Linked DNA regions of Homo sapiens: region 1 is linked to region 2. The links are contacts of gene promoters, found by promoter capture Hi-C in human tissues and cell types (Jung and others, 2019). All regions are on one chromosome and are shown on one strand. The core of a region is centred on a gene start or on the middle of the fragment in contact, and the rest is flanking DNA. Distances in the headings are between cores, read along the strand shown.

Region 1 (3,583 bases), core at 975-3,474, 310 kb after region 2:
AATGATATGTGATTATTGTTGGTAAAGGGGATTGGAGCCCAAGCGAAGCAAAATCACAAAGTTGTCAGTGCTTGAGCTGAACAACATAGCTTGAAAGAAAACTGAGGTCAACAAACCAGATTGGGAGTGGTGTTCCCTATCTGCCAAGGAACAGGAAGTTTATATAAGGGGAGGAGAGAGGTGGCTCAAATCAGAGTAACTGCTTGGTCCACAATGCTCAGACATGAGTTATCCTAGGTAGGATGAAATTATCAAAACTGTGGAAAAAAATGTGAAGAATTATCTCCAGCACCCTAACAACCCTGTGCCTGAGTTTACTTCTTCACAAAACAAATATTGTTAATAAAGGCAATCTAGAAATTTCCTATTCAAAAGCATCAAAGCTACTGTGCAATTCTAGAGTGATGAGTATACCAGAAGGTAGAAGCAGTCAATAGCTAGGTAGAAAATTAACAACCCAAGAAACAAGAGCAAATAGAAAAAAGCTGCAGTTCTGAGAGTTAGCAATGGAGTAGCTATGGAATCAGGATTAGAACTATATTAGAATATATAGGCAATGAGAAAACAATGAAAGTCAATGTGTAATTTTATATATTGGATGGATTGGAGGTATATAAAGTACTAACTAAAACTGAAAAAATATCACTTCTATAAGAAGAAAAGGGATTAAAGAAAGATAGAGGTATAGGGAGTATATTTGTAAGGATACAGCACTCTCTAGAAGTGACACCAGGAACTGAAACCAATGTACAAGATTTTCCTAAAGTTTTTAATTATAACTTTCTACGTGTGTGCCTTTGTGCACATATGTAACTTTTCCTTTTACCAGCTCAAGTAACAACCTTCATTGCCTCACTGGAAATATCACCTCAGGGAAAAAAAAAAATTGTTCAGCTGGATGTGAAAATAAAATTTTAATTTACTTCTGGTCTAAAAATTACTGTCTTAAAGGAGATAAAGTTTTCCACTATATTAAAGTGACTAGTCTGCTTTTATATGCACAGGAGTCATGTCATTGTTTAAAATGGTTCAGGGACATATGCTCAATTAATTTGGTTTAAATTATGGTATTAAAAATTAAAAATAAAACTCTTTGATAAGCTCAGGGGAAAATTACTGTCTTCTTCCCACTCCTAAAATTCAATTGGAATTGACTCAGCAACCAAAACACCTGTGGATAAGACTGCCCCAAGTCCCTTTCTTTCCAAAGCATAATTCGTGTCCTGACAATTTCCTACCTTCAATCCCATCTTCCCCTAAGACCCCTCACATTAAAACCCCATGAACCCTTGGATTGGAGCAGCTGGAACATAGCCTGGCGGATTGTCTTGGTCTTCAAGCTGTAAATGATAGGGTTCAGCACAGGTGGTAAGAGCAGATAAATATTGGCCAAAGTGCTACAGAGCACCCTTGGGGTGGAGTGGAAGAGGCGGTGTGCCAAAGAGAGGCTGATCAGTGGCACATAGAAAATAGTGACTGCACAGATGTGACAGACACAAGTGCTGAGAGCTTTTTGTTGCTTCTTTCGGGCCACAATGCCCAGAACAGTACGGAGGATCAGGACATAGGAGAAAAGAATAAACAATACGTCAGTGCCATTCAGGTAGAGCTGAAGAAACAGTCCCCAAAAACTGCTGATCCAAGGTTTGGAATATGTGTATTTGATCACTTCTGGGTGGTAGCAAAATGGATGGGAAAGCTCGTGACCCCCATGAAAAGACACAGTGTTTATGGCTACAAGAAGGGGAAGTAAGAAAACTGCTGGTCTAATGCAGATGACCAGCCCTATCACCAGGACCATCCTGTCTGTGAGGATAGTAGCATAGTTCAGTGGGTTACAGATAGCCACGAAGCGGTCAAAGGCCATGGCTACCAGCACCGAGGACTCCAGCAAGGAGAAAGCATGCACAAAGAACATTTGAATGAAGCAAGCTTTAAAGCTGATCTCCCGGGCATGAAACCAGAGAACACCAAGCACAGTGGGAAGGGTCGTAATGGTCAGACATAGATCAACAGCTGCCAGCATGGAGAGGAAATAATACATGGGTTTGTGGAGTCTCCGCTTAGTAATGATGACAAGAAAGATCATACTGTTTCCCAAGAGGGCAATGGTGTAGAGACAGCAGACTGGAATGGAGATCCAGACATGAGCACATTCCAGCCCAGGGAATGCAGTGAGGAGGAAGTTTGAGGAAGACGAAGTGGTGTTATTGAATATTGCCATGGTTGGTTGAAGACACTGAACTATGAGGAAAGAAAAATAATTAAGATTCTTTATATATATAGCATACATTTTATTAGTCATTTTATATACAATTTTAAATTTAAGGTAGTTATTTTTCTTCTGTTTTAAAGAAAGGAAATGGACCCAGGAAGGTTAAATAGTATATCTAGGCTAAAATAGTTCAATACAGATTCAAATTCAAAACCAAATTTACTAACTCCAAAGTCTATTATTTTTTACTAAACTTCAGATGATCAGAGAGGCCAGGCTAATGAGACAATTTGGATAGCTGAATGTTGTAATTTCCTTCCTTTAAAATACAATTTTTTAATATCCTTTTATACTTGTATATGATGTACAGGAGGGGTAGAGATGAGAAATAAGCAAAATAGAGAACTATGTTCTCATGACTCATCTAAAGAAGAATGTTTGTGGAGTCCAAGTGTTTTTAAAATTATGTATAAAAGTCTACATATGTTTGTATTGTTTTTGTCTTCACGTGCAGATGAATGCAGAGGGCATTTGGGGGTGCAAAAGTAACTGAGCGATGAGATGCTTATAAAGCAGATATCAGTTATCCTCTGTTCTTGGAATGATATCTCATAAAGGCAAAGAAATGACACTGGATAATGCAAGGCGGTAAGAGGAGAGGAGACAGTGGTTCCGTTTGCTGCTGGGGAAATCTTTCCTGTGGAATGGAGACAGAAGAAGAAGCAGAGGGCTTTCTCTCTGTGAGGTCATACACTCTGGAGCCAGTGGTAGGTCAAAGTTCAGTGCCTAAATTTATCAAGGTTTTCTCAACATTGCTGGCTAACCAGAGCAATATATTAGTGCTTTCTCTCTTCAGGTACAAGTCTCCATCTGACTGGCCAGGAAGAAGGTAGCATCTGCCCATTCATATACAGAAGACCAGGTGAAATTATTTGAATAACACTCACTCAACTCAATAACAGAGTGACCCAAAGGTCAACATCCCTATTTTCTGGCATCAGTAATGTTACAGACCCATCCTCTTCATTTACCAACCCCTACCTTCTGTTAATTTGTTAACACTGAATTATATTTCCTCCACAATTCAGAATATACCCTGAAAGTTCCCTGACATATTAAGCTAAAACTACCCTCTGCTTCAATCTTTGCCCCACATTTTGCTTGGACCTTTCCCTTGGTGCTTAATAATGAGGCACAACTGATATTGGTAATTTATATATCCAAGTACTGTGTTCTTCTGCCAGAAGTTTGAGATTCTTGAAAGTTTGGGAATGCACGTTTTTAATCTCTCAATGCTAGTTACTAAAGCAGGATCAGGAAAAACAGAAATCTTCATTTAGCAACATTGATTGATTACCAAACAATTAT
Region 2 (3,652 bases), core at 470-2,969:
TGAGTGTTTGTTAAAAGCTTTTGCTAATTTTGTGTCAATTTAACAAACTGTACTTTTATTTATGTATTTTTCTGTACTGAATAATAAAATATAAATTTAAGAAATATGAGTGAAAGTGTCAATTTACATATAAACCTGGCAGACTGAATATGTGTTCATTTCTGCTACTTTCTCTAATCCACTAAAGCTATAGATGTACACAGAGACACTGTGAAGAAAATAGCACAATATGTATGAACAAATTGATAAGTATATACATTTAAATATGATTTTTTAAAAAACAGAACAGGATAATCTGAAATCTATATGTCTACAGAAAAGGATACCAATGAGAAAAAACGTTATCTGCAAAGAGCATTTTCTGGAAAAACACAGAAATTACTTATAAAGCATTCGTGAGGGGTAGGGCTAAAAATGGTAGAAAAGGTGAATACCTGTTTAAGGTTGCCTAAAAGATAGCCAGGTACTCATTTCTCTTTAGTTCTGGCAAAATGATTAGTGTCTGTAGTAACCAAATCAATGATGATCCAGACACTGGGAAATTCAGTGCAAAGGATGCCAGGACTAAGGTGTAATATATGAAACAGAGAGATTATGCAAAAGAATACATATTGAATGATGATAAACTGTCTCAAGAGAAAGGACTAATAGATATTGGCATTTGAGTATTCGCTTACTGGATTAGCTAGGCTTCTTTCTGATCAGCCTTCAAAGTAACTGGCCAGATAACTAATTGTACCGTGTTCATAGAAATCCCCACTATACTCTTTTTAAAATTATTTTATTTTATTATTATTATACTTTAAGTTTTAGGGTACATGTGCACAATGTGCAGGTTAGTTACATATGTATACATGTGCCATGCTGGTGTGCTTCACCCATTAACTCATCATTTAGCATTAGGTATATCTCCTAATGCTATCCCTCCTCCCTCCCCCCACCCCACAACAGTCCCCAGAGTGTGATGTTCCCCTTCCTGTGTCCATGTGTTCTCATTGTTCAATTCCCACCTATGAGTGAGAACATGCAGTGTTTGGTTTTTCGTCCTTGCGATAGTTTACTGAGAATGATGATTTCCAATTTCATCCATGTCCCTACAAAGGACATGAACTCATCCTTTTTTATGGCTGCATAGTATTCCATGGTGTGTATGTGCCACATTTTCTTAATCCAGTCTATCATTGTTGGACATTTGGGTTGGTTCCAAGTCTTTGCTATTGTGAATAGTGCCGCAATAAATTGCATTTACAAACCTTTAGCTAGACATGAAAGTTCTCCAGTTCCATATTTCATGGTGAGGAACAAAGAATATGGTGGGGATCCCCACTATATTCTTTGTTCCTCACCATGAAATATGGAACTGGAGAACTTTCATGTCTAGCTAAAGGTTTGTAAATGCACCAATCAGCAATCTGTGTCTAACTCAAGGTTTGTAAATGCACCAATCAGTGCTCTGTGTCTAGCTAATCTAGTGGGGACTTGGAGAACTTTTGTGTCTAGCTAAAGGATTGTAAATGCACTAATCAGCACTCTGTGTCTAGCTCAAGGTTTGTAAATGCACCAATCAGCACTCTGCCAAAACGGACCAACCAGCTCTCTGTAAAATGGGCCAATCAGCTCTCTGTAAAATGGACCAATCAGCAGGATGTGGGTGGGGTCAGATAAGGAAATAAAGGCAGGCTGCCGGAGCCAGCTGTGACAACTGACTTGGGTTCCCTACCATGCTGTGGAAGCTTTGTTCTTTTATTCTTCACAATAAATCTTACTGCTGCTCACTCTTTGGATCCGCGCTGCCTTTATGAGCTGTAACACTCACTGCGAAGGTCTGCGGCTTCACTTCTGAAGCCAGCAAGACCACGAACCCAGCATGGGGGATGAACAACCCAAGACAGGAGGAATGAGCAACTCCATACGCTCCGCCTTTAAGAGCTGTAACACTCCCCGTGGGGGTCTGCAGCTTCACTCCTGGAGCCAGCAAGACCGTGAACACACCAGAAGGAAGAAACTCTGGACACATCTGAAGTAACAAACTTTGGACACACCATCCTTTGAACACACCATCTTTAAGAATTGTAACACTCACCACGAGGGTTCGCGGCTTCATTCTTTAAGTCAGCGAGACCAAGAACCCACCAATTCCGGACACAGAAGGATGGACAAAGATTATCAGGAATGCAATTAAGTCCACCAACACAAAAATTACATACCTAGAATCAATTTTAATAAAGAAAACTTATTTGGAGCACAGCTTATTCAGGGCAGAAAATAAAAGCTAATAATAAAAGAGGTGCATAATAAATATTCTTAATTAAATAACCACTCATTTTAGATCCTTGATATTTGAACAGAATAGTATAAAAAATAGAGGGCATGATAAATAGTAAATAAAGCAAAAATATGAGAGATGAGATGAAGTAGCCAATAAGGGGGACAGGAAGTAGATTTAAGAGTGCAGAAAAAAAGGACAAAGGAATAAATATGGGGGGCATGGAGGAAAAAATAGGGTGAAGTCAGGAACTCCAAAATCTTAACTGGAGTTCAGGAGAGAGTGAAAATAGAACATGTAGAAGGAACTTACTAGAGATCAATACAAGACAATTTTCTGAACAAAAGAACACAGCAGTTGAAATTGAGAGTATCCACAAAATACCCAGAACAAAATAAAATAAAATAAAAATTCATGGTAAGTTAAGAGAATGAAAAAAACAAGCCACAGAGAACATATTTGCAAAACATATTATCTGATAAAGGACTTGTATACATATTATACAAAGAACTTTTAAAATTCTACAATAAAAAACAAACAATCCAATTGCAAAGTGGGCAAAAGATCTGAACAGACACTTTACCAAAGAAGATATATAGATTGCAATAAGCACATGAAAATATACTCAGTAACACATGTCATTAAGAAACTGCACATTAAAACAAGAAGATACCAACCACTACACACATATTAGAAGGCCAAATTCCAAAATACTGACATCCACCAAACACTGGCAACGAAGTGGAGCAACAGTAACTCTCACTTATTGCTTGTAGGGATGAGAAATAGTGCAGCCAAATTGGAAGACAGTTTACAGTTTCTTACAAAACTAGTCTTTTCATGTGACCCAACAATCACACTCCTATGTATTTACCCAAATGAGTCAAAAATTTATGTCCACACACAGACATGAACTAACCAAGGTTTATAGGAACTTTACTCATAATTGCCAAAAGTTGAAAGTAACCAAGATGAATGGATAAACTGTGGAACATCCATAGGATAGAATATTATTCAGTGATATAAATAAAGGTCTATCAAGCTGTGAAAAGACATAAAGAGCTTTAATTGTATATTGCTTAATTCATTTTCTTTAATTATAGTCATCATTCTCTACATATTACTCCATTAACCTATTTTATCTTGCTGTTGAGAAACTTCCATTCCTATAGTCTTTCATATCCTTCTGTTCTGATTATTATTCCTCAAACAAATATAGATATTCAATAATAGACAAATAGTGAATAAAGTATGGTACATTCTTTGACTTAGTTTCAGACAGCTATTGCATAGAATGAAATAGATTAATATTTAATAACAGGTAATGTTATGATTTATTAAAAATAAGATGATAAATAAAAGATTTAGTATCTTCCCATGGAGATA

The links. Contacts are between HindIII fragments. The study calls those that stand out against the background at their distance.
Region 1: the fragment with the promoter of OR51T1 here is called in contact with a fragment that was not itself captured in region 2 in 1 of the 25 tissues and cell types used here (aorta).

What each region holds. Positions count from the first base shown.
Region 1 is chr11:4,880,541-4,884,123 of GRCh38, reverse strand. It overlaps OR51T1 (olfactory receptor family 51 subfamily T member 1), which reads right to left and starts at 2,224. Exons shown (of 1, transcript NM_001004759.3): 1 at 1,241-2,224. The coding sequence starts at 2,224. The coding sequence ends at 1,241. The region is part of intron 2 of MMP26 (matrix metallopeptidase 26); the gene reads right to left. The HindIII fragment of the contact is 5,093 bases long and covers 112-3,583 here.
Region 2 is chr11:5,192,129-5,195,780 of GRCh38, reverse strand. No RefSeq gene overlaps it. Among named protein-coding and RNA genes, the nearest start is that of OR51V1, 6.7 kb to the left of the region's middle. RefSeq lists an enhancer at 1,335-2,071. The HindIII fragment of the contact is 5,551 bases long and covers 1-3,652 here.